Regions from separate parts of the Homo sapiens genome. Here all the other regions are linked to region 3. Evidence: promoter capture Hi-C in 16 types of primary human blood cells and fetal thymus (Javierre and others, 2016). All regions are on one chromosome and are shown on one strand. The core of a region is centred on a gene start or on the middle of the fragment in contact, and the rest is flanking DNA. Distances in the headings are between cores, read along the strand shown. Region 1 overlaps CPEB2-DT (CPEB2 divergent transcript). Region 2 has its middle 6.6 kb from the start of MIR5091. Region 3 holds the start of LCORL (ligand dependent nuclear receptor corepressor like).

Region 1 (3,991 bases), core at 1,430-3,929, 3.0 Mb after region 3:
CAGCTTCTTCCAAACTCCAGTTAATGTTGACACTTTGACCTCCCATGAGTCACACATATTCTGAATGGCAGCTAGAATGGTGAATCCCTTCCAGAAGGTTTTCAATTTGCTTTGCCCTTATCCATCAGAGAAATCACTATGGCAGCTATAGCCTTATGAAATTTATTTCTAAAATAATACTTGAGGCTGTCCTGGTGACAACTTAGTGATTTTAAATTTTAAAATGAAAATAGAATTATAAAGAGGAGTTAGTTGCATTATTAGAAGAATTGCTTAATAGCAGCTTTATTTCAAAACAATCTCAGCACTTTGGGAGGCCAAGGCGGGCAGGTCACTTGAGGTCAGGAGTTCAAGACCAGCCTTGCCAACATGGTGAAAACCATTCACTTCTAAAAATACAAAAATTAGCTGGGTGTGGTGGCGCATGCCTGTAATCTCAGCTAATTGGGAGGCTGAGGCAGGAGAATCGCTTGAACCTGGGAGGCGGAAGTTGCAGGGAGCCGAGATAGTGCCACTGAACTCCAGTCTTATAGCCAGAGCCAGATTTTGTCTCAAAAATAATAATAATAATACTTGAAACTCATAATTACTCCTGAATCCATGGGCTGCAGAATTGAAGTTGGGTTAGCAGGTATGAGAACAACAATTATCTTCTTGTACATCTCCATCAGAACTCTTGGGTGACCAGGTATATAGTCAATGAGCAGTAATATTTTGAAAGCAATCTTCTTTTCTAAGCAGTAGATCTCAACAGTGGACTTAAAATGTTCAGTAAACTATGCTCTTTCCAAGTTTTGTGGTTCCATTTACCAAGCACAGGCAGAGTAGACTTAGCATGATTCTTAAGGGCCCTAGGATTTTCAGAATGATTAATGAGCATTGGCTTCAAGTTAAGGTCACCAGCTACATTAGCCCTTAAGAAAAGAGTCTGTCTTTTGAAGCTTGAAGCTAGGCATTGACTTTTCCAGCTATGAAAGTCCTAGATGATACCTTCTTCCAATAGAAGGCTGTTTTTTCTACGTGAAAACTTATTTAGTGTAGCCACCTTCATCAGTTATCTTAGCTAGATTTCTAGATAACTTGCTGCAGCTTCTCCATAAGCACTTTCTGCTTTACCTTGCACTTTTATGTTACGAAGACAGCTTCTTTCCTTAAACACGAACCGACCTCTGCGAGCTTTGAACTTTTTTCTTCTGCAGCTTCCTCACCTCTCTCAGCCTTCACAGAATTGAAGAGAGTTAGGGCCTTGCTCTGGAGTAGGCTTCAGCTTAAGGGAATGTTGTGGCTGGTTTAATTTTCTCTATCCAGACCATTCACACTTTTTCTATATCAGCAATAAAGCTGTTTCACTTTCTTATCACTCGTGTTCACTGGAATAGTACTTTTAATTTCCTTCAAGAACTTTTCCTTTGCATTCAGAACTTGACTAACTACTTGGTGCAAGAGGCCTAGCTTTCAACCTATTTCAGCTTTCCACATACCTTCCTCACTAAGCCTAATTATTTCTAGCTTTTCATTTAAAGTGAGAGACATGTACCTCTTCCTTTCACTTGAATACTTAGAGGTCGTTAGAGTGTTATTAATTGGCCTAATTTCAATATTGTTTTGTCTCAGGGAATAGGGAAGCCCAAAGCCTTTATTGATTAAATTATTGTCTTATATGGTTGTGGTTTGTGATGTCCCAAAACAGTTACACTAGTAACATTAAATATTATGATCACAGATCCCCAAAATAGATATAATAATAATGACAAAGCTTTAAGTAACGCAAGAATTACCAAAATGTAACACAGAGATACAAATTGAGCCATGCTGTTGGGAAAATTGTGCTGATAGACTTGCTTGATGCAGGGTTGCCACCAACCTTCAATTTGTGAAAAACCCATTATCTGAGAAGCACAATATAGCAGAGCACAATAAAGCGAGGAGTGCCTATATATCCAGAATCCAAGCACTTCACCCCATTCTCACCACAAGCAGCCTGGACCAGGCTACATCGTTGCTCTCACCTACTAACTCGTATTCCAGCTTCTGATCTTGCCCCTCTCCAGTCTGTTCCCAACATAGCAGCCAGGATGATACTTCTGAAGTGGAAGACAGGTCATGTCAACTCCTCTGACTAAATACTTACATTTTCTCAGAATAGAAGTCAAAACATTTTAATAACCAAAAGGTTCTTCAGAATCGCTCCTGCCACCACTAACCCCTCTGAAAGCTTCCCTACAGTGGAATGCTTATTTCTGTAACAGCCCAGGCCAATTCAGCCTTAGGGCCTTTGCCCTCGCAATTCCCACACCTGGAATACTTGTCTCCTAAGTAGCAACAGGGCTCACTTAATCATGTTTTTATCATTTTTTTTCATGTCTCTCTCACGTCTCTGCTAAAAGTCATTTTTCAGTGATGTCTTCCCTGACCACCATTGTAATAAAATGACAACCCCCCGCCGCCACTCTTTCCCAGCCTTCTTATTCCTCATAAGGTGTTTGTGTTTCCATCTGACCCACTATGTACTTGAACTGTTTATCTGTCCTCTCTCTGAGATCACAAGCCCATGAGGAAAGGTCCATGCCTGTTTTGCTCACTGTTGTATCCTCAGCACTTACAACGATGCCTTGCACATAGTAGGCTTTCAAGAGTTGGGAATTGCATGCACTTATTAAAGGGGTTGTTGAATTAATAAATAGCAATTTTAGGAAATGATAGCTAAAAGAATACAATAGTAATACAAGGGTCTGTTTATAAATGGTTAATTTGTTTTCAGGAGCTGTCCAAACACCATGCAGATGCTCCTAGGATTCTTAAACTAGCCAAAAATAATTCCAGGCATTGTCAGATATAGGATAAGTACATGAAGACAGGTAAGTCATCCCAAGACTATAACGCTGGGGAATAGATAACCCTGGAGTACAAGGGGGAAAACTTCTGTCTCAGGAGACTAGAGTTGGGACTCCAGGAACACAGGGGTTCATTACAGGAGCTTGAACAAAGAGAGGAGTCAAGACCCCATCTCATAGAAATGGAACCAGTTCAGGAGGCACTGCAGTTAAGGTCAACTGGATGCCTTACTTCCATGCTGCTGGTTTCTTTCTGTGGCAGAGCCCATGCCCATAAATGTAATTAACCCCACAGAATGGGAAAGCTTTGAGTCTTTAGATGGGAGCTAATTAGCTCTGGTTTGGAGTTGGAAAAGGAGAAAGTAGAAATTAAGATTCATTCTGACCTTGACCAACTTCAAGGTGCTTTATTGATGTGGCACTCAAGAGTAGTACCATCCTCAATTACTTCTAGTTCTCCTACTTTTCTAAACCTTCCTTCATAATTTCCTCCTTCACTTTCTCCTTACATATTCTTTACGTGTGAGAGTTCCTTAGGCTTATGTTTCTGGTCCTTTTCTATATTTCTACCTACTTTTTCTAGATGAATTTATTATCATGTTTTCAAACATCATCTAAATGCTAATGTCTTCCAAATCCATCTCTTTAGCCTCATGGTCAAAATCATATTTCCAACTGCCTGTTTAACAGTTTGACCTGGGTGTCCTTCAGCCACATCAATTCAATGTGTCTATACCTGCATTCAACATCTTCCCCAAAATCTGCTTCTCCTATTTTGCTTCTTGTCTTGGCTGACGTCATCATCACACAACCAGTTTCTCAAGCTGAAACATGAGTCATCCTCTTCCTTCATCTCTCTCACCCTCCAAAAACAATTGTCAACCATGCTCTGTCAATTATACTGCAGAAACGTTACTCAAATGTAATTCCTTCATGTATCTCCGCATTCCCTTGCCTTTCACATTCCTGGAACACAAGTGCCCAATAAGTATTTGTTGATTAGTAATTGCCCAATGAATGCTGTAAGAAGAAAAGATGAAGAAAAGGAGAAAACAAGGTAAGGAAAGGAAGGAGGGAGATGGAAGGAAGGAAAGAGGTAGATGTTTCCAAAGCATGCTTTACAAAGACATGAGCCATTTTGTGGATAACTGTAGCAT
Region 2 (3,852 bases), core at 1,016-3,515, 4.4 Mb after region 3:
CACTGCACAATTCCTCACAATCCCTTCCTGTGTTAGTTTCCACCCATTACCATAATAATGCACATTTCCTATTAAAAATAGGACTTTTATTAGTTGTGAATTTGTTTCACATAATCAAATGACGGTAGAAACAAGCATACCTGGCCCTCAGGAATATGTGGACCACAGGCAGGGTGTTCGTTGTCCATCCTCATCTGTGCTTCACTCTGTGGATTAGTGGATTTTTTTTTTCTTGGCAGATTGGCTTGATACACATGACAGAGGATCTGGTTATTACCGACTCCAGACACCTGCTTACAATGTAGCTGAGAGGGATACCAATTACCTTCAAAAATCCCAAGGAAGGGTTCTAATTTGTCCATCTTGGGTCAGGTCCTCATCTCCAGCCTATTCCCTGTTGTCAATAGACTTCTTTGTCTTTTCCTAGTTTTCTACAAGAAAAACTTTCTTTTCCTAGTTTACTAGTAGTCTACTCGTTCTCTACAATTTAAGTGGTAATCAAGACAACTTATATTTAAAATATGGCCAATAAAATTAGATGTTAGGTAAGCTGGTCACCCTGACTGGACCCCCACAGCAACACTTCAATTTGTTGACCATAGTGTGGGGTCCAGCCTGCAGTCTTGCAAGGTAAGAGGTGACTATCAGTACAAAAAGAATAGATCTGAATCCTGGGTGGTTTCAAAATTCGCCAAGCTCTTAGGGTTTTATGCATAAAAATCATTCATGGGGAGAGATATAACTACCAAGTAGACAGCTTCCTATATTTACTACTCAGCACTTTTTCTTCCTATAGGCAAATCCAAATGTGAAGCCAAATGTGATCCAAAAGTTACTTAACAATCACAGAATCAGAGGAGAAATGAATGAGATCATCTTAATGGCTGGCACCCAATAGCAAATGCATGCTCTCCAGAGACAGTGCCAATTCTAGACACTTTGAATTCCTTCCTTTCATACATGCATGCCAACCACCTCTTACTCTTAAAACACAAAACAAAACAAAAAAAAAAACAACTCTTTCTTCAAATGTAGAATACAATCTTTATTTAGGTATACAAATTTTTATTTATATTTAAATAAATCCCTCCCAGAATTTCTACCCAGATGACCTGGATTAGATTTGAGGTATTCAGATAATACTACATCATTTCTAGAGACCTCCCTCCAATTTCTGCTTTTCCTAATTTTATTCCTGGAGGTGTGACTTTCAGTTTTCAGAATACCATGTACCATCTAGAATACTCAGGAAACACACACACACACAGACACACACATGTTAGGGCTATTTTTAAAATAAGAACAATTTTCACAAAGCCTAAATGGAAAATGCTAAATGCAAAGCTTCTTTCCATCTTTATAAGCATATAAAAGATACCTTGCATTTCAAGCCATCTGCAATATTGACATCTCAATTTTCAAAATAGCCAGCAATTCAGTAGCATTAATAGGCACAGGCTACCTAACTTCATAATAAATCTTACTTTTATAAATCTGATTGCTATCACTACCAGGAGTTTAAACCTTATGAGCAAAGAAATGTATAAAAATTAATGGTACTTGCATAAAAGGAGTATCATCTTACAAAAAAAAATGTTCAAACTAGAAAGTACGGTTTCAGTAAAACTTTGTTTATAAAAACAGGTAGACTGGATTAGGCCTGTGGGCCGTGATTTGTCTAGTCCAGTGTTTCTCATATAGTGTTCTATCAGCATTTGTTAAATGCATTTGTTAACAATGGAAACTCTCAGGCTCTGTCCCAGACCTATCAAATCAGGGACTCAGGATGGCGTGCCTAGTACTCTATTTTAACAAGTCCTCTAGGAGATTTTGGTGTAGGCTAAAATTTGAGAACCACTATTAGTCTTCCAGATTACCCACAGAGGAATCTCCCATCCCATAAAGTATTAATAACTAATGTGACTGATAGGTCCAACTTCACCAAATACCCCCCACCACTCTATTTCCCTCCTCTTCTGAAGTTCCTACTCCAATATCCCAGGGGCTTATGTATCCCAATCCTCGTCTCAGTTGACATTACTCCTGTCTTGCTGCCCCAGACACATCCTCCTTTTTCCCACCAACTAGAACTTGGCCACTCTCTTGAATTCTGCAGCTCCTCAAGGTAATATATTCTCACAAAGCCACCATTTCCAAAGCACCCCTACCCTACAACACTCCCAGACTGGCAGGGAGCTGAAGTTTCCAGTCTATGCCAAATGTCCCAGAATCACCCTTCGTCCTCTCTGCCTTACTGTCCCCCTGTACCACTCCACTTCCATGCCCTGACCCTAGGGCAAGTGACAATTCTTTCAAGGGAAAAATCAGTACCCGCTTTTCACATTAACATTGTATAACACTCTGCAGCCCCACCATCATGGTAGTCCTGCCTTATTTGAGGTTTTGCTTTCTGCAGTTTCAGTTACTCATGGTCAACTGTGGTCTGAAAATATTAAATGGAAAATTCCAGAAACAATGAATACATTTTAAGTGTTGCACCATTCTGACAAACATGCTGAAATCTTGCACCATACCATGCCATCCCTTTGTCCAGCATATCCACTCTGTGTATGTTAGCTGCCTGTTAAGTCACTTAGCAGCCATCTTGGTTATCAGATCAGAAAAAAATATAATATACACAGTATAGACTTTTGGGGTTTTTGTTGTTGTTTTTGTTTTTGAGATGGAGTCTGACTCTATCACCCAGGCTGGAGTGCAGTGGCACGATCTCAGCTCACTGCAACCGCCGGCTTCCGGATTCAAGCAATTCTCCTGCCTTAGCCTCCCAAGTAGCTGGGATTATAGGCACGTGACACCATACCCGGTTAACTTTGTATTTTTAGTAGAGATGGAGTTTCACCATGTTGCCCAGGCTGGTCTTGAACTCCTGCCTTCAGGTGATCCACCTGCCTCACCCTCCCAAAGTGCTGGGATTACAGGTGTGAGCCACTGAGCCCAGCCCATGGTATAGTTTGTTCCTCCATGGTTTCAAGCATCCTCTAGGGGTCTTGGAACATATCCCCCATGGATAACAGGGCACTACTATACTGCAACAAAAATAGAATATGTGTGACCATGCAGCTTGCATTGGAAAGACAAATAATATTAACACATGTCCTCTCCCCCTCCTCCGATGTTTTCCGTTATCACTGAAAAACGAACTTTCAAAGTTTCTACTAAGCTTTGGGTTGATGGAGATTTAGGAAATATTGATTTCCCTTTGATTATGAAAAGCCTAGTCGGGAATGGAGATGCCAAAGAGTGGGGATCCCATGGGGGTACAAGGGGAAGAAAATAAGGAAACAACTCTGACGAATAATCAGATGGGATCCCTGGTGTTAGGAGATCAATGTTTGACTTTCACTGGACAAGCTCACAGAAGCAGTCTGGAGGATTGGGTAGGGGTGGGGGACAGGCTGGACTGTAGAAAGGAAAAGAAATTCCTGACAAAAACCATTTGTCAGGAATCTGGTGCCTAACCATGCACATGGCTACCAGTAACAGGGGCCATCATCACCTATTGTTGCTTCCCTAATTCGCAAACTATAAACTCTGTCACCTTGACATCAGACTTGGGGAACAGAATGAGAGTCAATCCTGTTAAGGGAGAAAGTACCTGACCTTTGTTGGAATGTTCTGAACTCAGACAGGCATAGAGTAGGAGAATGATGGCAGTTTCTTTTGTGAAGATCTCACCTCTTCTATGCCCTAACTACTGCTAGAAATTATATACTCTTTTCCTTTCAGCCGGAACCGCTGTCTTCCAGTAATTCGCCAAAATGACGAACACAAAGGGAAAGAGGAGAGGCACCCGACAGATGTCCTCTAGGCCTTTTAGAAAACATGGAGTTG
Region 3 (3,895 bases), core at 1,168-3,667:
ACACCATGTCTATTTAGTCCCTATTCCATCACTGTGCGTGTGTGTCTGTGTGTGTGTGTGTGTGAGAGAGAGAGAGAGAGAGAAGAGAGATCGCGAGTGAGAGAGATCTGGGGAGAATACCTTATCTTTTTAGTTGTCTATAACAAGAGAAGCTTTATCCAGTTCCAATATGGAGACTACCAACCATCACCCAGAGATGCCAGACTTTGAGATTAATGCCTTTACTGAACAGAACTTTTGGATTGTCTCACTTTGTGATAGGAGTAAATCTATTTTGTAGTGTGAAGAAAGTGAACTGTAAACTGGTGACCAGAAGGATAGATCACAGTAATCCTTGATACTATTTACCAATAAATTCTGGTTATCTTCTTTTTGCACATATAATAGGATCGCACTTCCCTGCTCCCTTTAAGATAGATACGCCCGAATAATTCGCTTTGGTCAATGAAATGTGAGAACTGACTTGTATCACTTTTAGGAAGAACCAGTTCGCCATTCTTCATCTTCCTTTTGCCTATCACCCAAGGGGGGACGTTGCAGAGATTCCAGCCTCTTTAAGGATCCAGTTGCTTAGTGAGACCACATGGAATGAAGCCCCCTCCTCCTGCCACCCAGAGATGAACATGTAGATAATCAGGAAATAGTTTTTTGTTGTTGTTTTAAGCCACTAAGATTCTTGGATCATTTATTACTGCACCATAATTTTTCCCATCCTAACTAATGTAGATTACTATAAAAGTGATCAGGAAAACTGCAAAGGCTGATCATCGTGGCAATTGTGAGTGGAAGTGGTTAACTAAAACCATCCACTGACAATTCCAAAATCACCTTCACTAGTGATTTCACCTGCACTCCAATTGTGACCGTTCTAGAAAAGGTGATTATGCGTTCAAACTTTATTATTTTTAACTTATGAAGATGCAAAATTACATCTTCACTACTGAAGTCATAATGAGCAAAGAAATACTTTCTCATAGGAAGAAAAAGAAGGTGGATAAGGATAAGCCACAAAACAGGGAAGGTGGTACTGAATTCAGAGTTTATGAGATTTCCAAGAAGAATTAAACATATTTCCCACAGACTTGTGAATAAATTTCCAGAAATACACAGTACTTCTTAGCAAACGTTGGGTAGCTTAGCTTCGGCTTGATAAACTGCACTTATACGGAAACAAACGCACAATCGCTCTGGTGCAAAAGTAAAAACTGTGATTGGAGTCTGTATTTAAACGTAAGATTCCTCTCTAGCTCTCTCTGAAGAAGTTATTTTCTCTAGCACGTGGTAGAATTCATTCCATTAACCTTTGTAAAGTGCTTAATCCCGTGTCACGCACTGTACTAGGGTCTAGCGAGTGACAGATGTCACGGTACAGAGATCTCAGTGGGTCGCTGCCCTCCAGGAGCTTATAAAGAAAATTTTCCTTCTGCAGTTTTCAGCCGGCTACACCCAGTCCCCTGCAAGTAATTTTCAGTGAAAAAAACCCGCATCTTTTTCCTAGTCCTTGCAAATATTCTGGCTTTCCGAGATCTCTTCGCCTTGAATACCGAAGTCACTCCGGGATCTCTCTCTGGACGTTTGGCAGTTATTCCAGATGTAGCCGAATGACCGGCTTGCCCTTTCCCTGCGGAGTGACAGGAAGACAGCGACCCCGGAAAGTTTCCAGCACTTAAAACGCAAAGCGCAGCCTGAACCCACAAGGAGCCGACAACTCTTGCGGCTTCCACCACCCTTCTATCGCGGAGCCTAAGGAAGCTAAAGCAGTCGGGTCAGACCCGGCCACCGGGCAGCGCATGGTTCCGGGCGCAGGGAGCGACAGACTCAGCCCCCCAGCGGCGCGGCGCAGAGAAGTTGCAGGCCAGCCTGCATACCCAAGTGCGGGGGGGAAGAAAAACAAACAAACAAAAAAAATCCTTTCTTCTGGACTACAATGACCGGCAAGCAACGCGCCACGGCGCCAAGTTCAGCTTCGGGATCCTGGCGAAATGGAGCCTGGGAAGTGAAGTCTCCGGACTGTCGGAGTCCCGTAGTGAAGGCAGAAAGTAGGCGTTGCTAGTCCGCTCCACTAGCACGCCGGTTCCTGGCTGGGCTCCGGGTCTCTCGCTCCCGCTCAGGGTTTTCGCGGGCGGCGGGAGCGGTATGGCTCGCCTGAGTAAACTCCAGCGGGAGGGGGAGGAGGGTAGTGGGTGGGGAGGCGGGGTCAGCGGAAGCGGCAGGTTGCTTCCTTCTCCTCTGGCTCCCTCCCCGCCTCTCCCTGAGGGAGCGGTGGGAGGGGGAGGGCAGGGCAGAGGGAAGGTAGTGACACGTGTCAATCAACCCCCCTCCGGGGGGCGCGCGCTCCGGGGCTCGCGCCGAGGGCTCGCGCCCCTGCCTCGTGCCTGCGCTGCTCGTATGTAAATGAGGGCGCGTGACGCGGGACGCAGATGGACAAGGGAAGAGAGAGAATGGCCGCTGCCGCCGCCGCTGCTGCCGCCGCCGCCGCCGCCGCTCAGTGCCGGAGCCCTCGGTGCGCGGCGGAGAGAAGAGGATTCCGGCGGGAACTCGACTCTTGGCGCCACCGCCTCATGCACTGTGTAGGTAAGAGAGACGCGGGCCGGGGCCCCGGGCTCCGCGCGGCGACCGCTGTCGCAGCCCGAGGAGTTTGTGGCTGAGGGGTTTAGTTGAATCTCCCGTTCGGGTTAGTTCGGTGGGGGAGCGAGATGGGAGCGGCGCGGCGCGGCGGCCCCGGCGCTCGCCTTTTGTCTTGCGGGCTGCTGGCCCGGCGCGGTCCGCGCTCCTTCGCCTTCCCAGCTCTTGGGCTCCCCGGGAACTGTTAGTTTGGACCCGCTTGCTGAGCCCCCGCGGAAGCCGCCCGCTCGCTCTCTCCCCGAAACTCCTCGGCGCCCGTCGCTGCCCGCCGTCGCCCGCCGTCCACCCTGACAGGACGGAGGAAGCGGCCCGGTGGGTCGGCGCCCTGGCGGAGGAGAGCCGGCGGGCAGGGCGGCCGGAGGAAGGCGGGCTGGTCCGCGCCCCCGCCGAGCGCACACACACCCCCTTGTCGCCGCCGGGGGCCGGGTGAGCAGACGCGGCCAGTTCCCGGGGACCTGGACCTGGAGACCCACGGGCACTCGCAGGGCGGGGGCCGCTGATGGGCCGGCTGGGGGCGAGGGGCGGCGGGGGCGTCGTCCGAGGGGCGGGGGGCGCCCAACTCTGCCCTCTCGCGCTCGGCGGCGGCGCTGTGTGTACCCCTTTAAGAAGGAGCCGCTTGAGCGCTGACGGTTGGGATTTGAAGTTCTTCCTCCCTCTTTGGAAGTCTGGACGGATGGGGGGTGTTGCCACGGCAACGACACCCTCCCCCCCGTCTGCTTGCGGACGCCCCGACGACTCTGGTCCTCTTTCACTGTCATGTGATGGACTCTTCCTTACACACACACACACATATACACGCATACGCATCGCCCTCCCCACCTCCCATCCCCATTCAACTGCAATTCCCTCTTTTTGGTTGGATCTGAATCGTTTTGCCTCAAACTTCTGGGCTTGGGGCTCTCACCCTGTGGATTGTTTAGGGTGACAGGAATGGTGGGACTCCCGACCTTGCTGCAGTCGCTTTTTTTTTTTTCTTTTTTTGCCTAAGACGAATGCATAGAGCTGTTATCCAGCAGGTTGGTTTAGTGGGCTTAGAGGGGCGAACACGGATTATGGAATGGGGCGCGTTGTGGGTGTTTGTTTTGGAAGGGGGTTATGGGTGGGAGTGTAGGGGAAGAGGTAGAAAGGAAGGTTGTATTGTGTAAGCAGTGGATAGTGGCAGCAGCTTGCTCTACTGGCGAGTGAATCTTGGCATTTGGAGTTGGGGAGTAACCCTAGTGTCTTAAGAAAACAACTCTCTTACCTTGTTTCCATCTGCTCTGGCACCACC

Evidence for each region. The method cuts DNA at HindIII sites, captures the fragments that hold promoters and counts their contacts. A CHiCAGO score of 5 or more calls a contact.
Region 1: a fragment that was not itself captured here is called in contact with the fragment with the promoter of LCORL in region 3 in 3 of 17 cell types (non-activated CD4 T cells, total CD4 T cells and activated CD4 T cells); the score reaches 8.8 in non-activated CD4 T cells.
Region 2: a fragment that was not itself captured here is called in contact with the fragment with the promoter of LCORL in region 3 in 1 of 17 cell types (non-activated CD4 T cells); the score reaches 8.4 in non-activated CD4 T cells.

What each region holds. Positions count from the first base shown.
Region 1 is chr4:14,994,121-14,998,111 of GRCh38, reverse strand. CPEB2-DT (CPEB2 divergent transcript) reads left to right here. Exons shown (of 8, transcript NR_038857.1): 4 at 2,762-2,858. Among named protein-coding and RNA genes, the nearest start is that of CPEB2-DT, 5.9 kb to the left of the region's middle. The HindIII fragment of the contact is 924 bases long and covers 2,218-3,141 here.
Region 2 is chr4:13,632,526-13,636,377 of GRCh38, reverse strand. It overlaps the pseudogene LOC100288683. Among named protein-coding and RNA genes, the nearest start is that of MIR5091, 6.6 kb to the right of the region's middle. The HindIII fragment of the contact is 1,837 bases long and covers 1,347-3,183 here.
Region 3 is chr4:18,020,277-18,024,171 of GRCh38, reverse strand. LCORL (ligand dependent nuclear receptor corepressor like) reads left to right here and starts at 2,417. Exons shown (of 8, transcript NM_001394446.1): 1 at 2,417-2,574. The coding sequence starts at 2,421. RefSeq lists an enhancer at 1,786-2,045 and silencers at 2,096-2,555, 2,876-3,205. The HindIII fragment of the contact is 12,000 bases long and covers 155-3,895 here.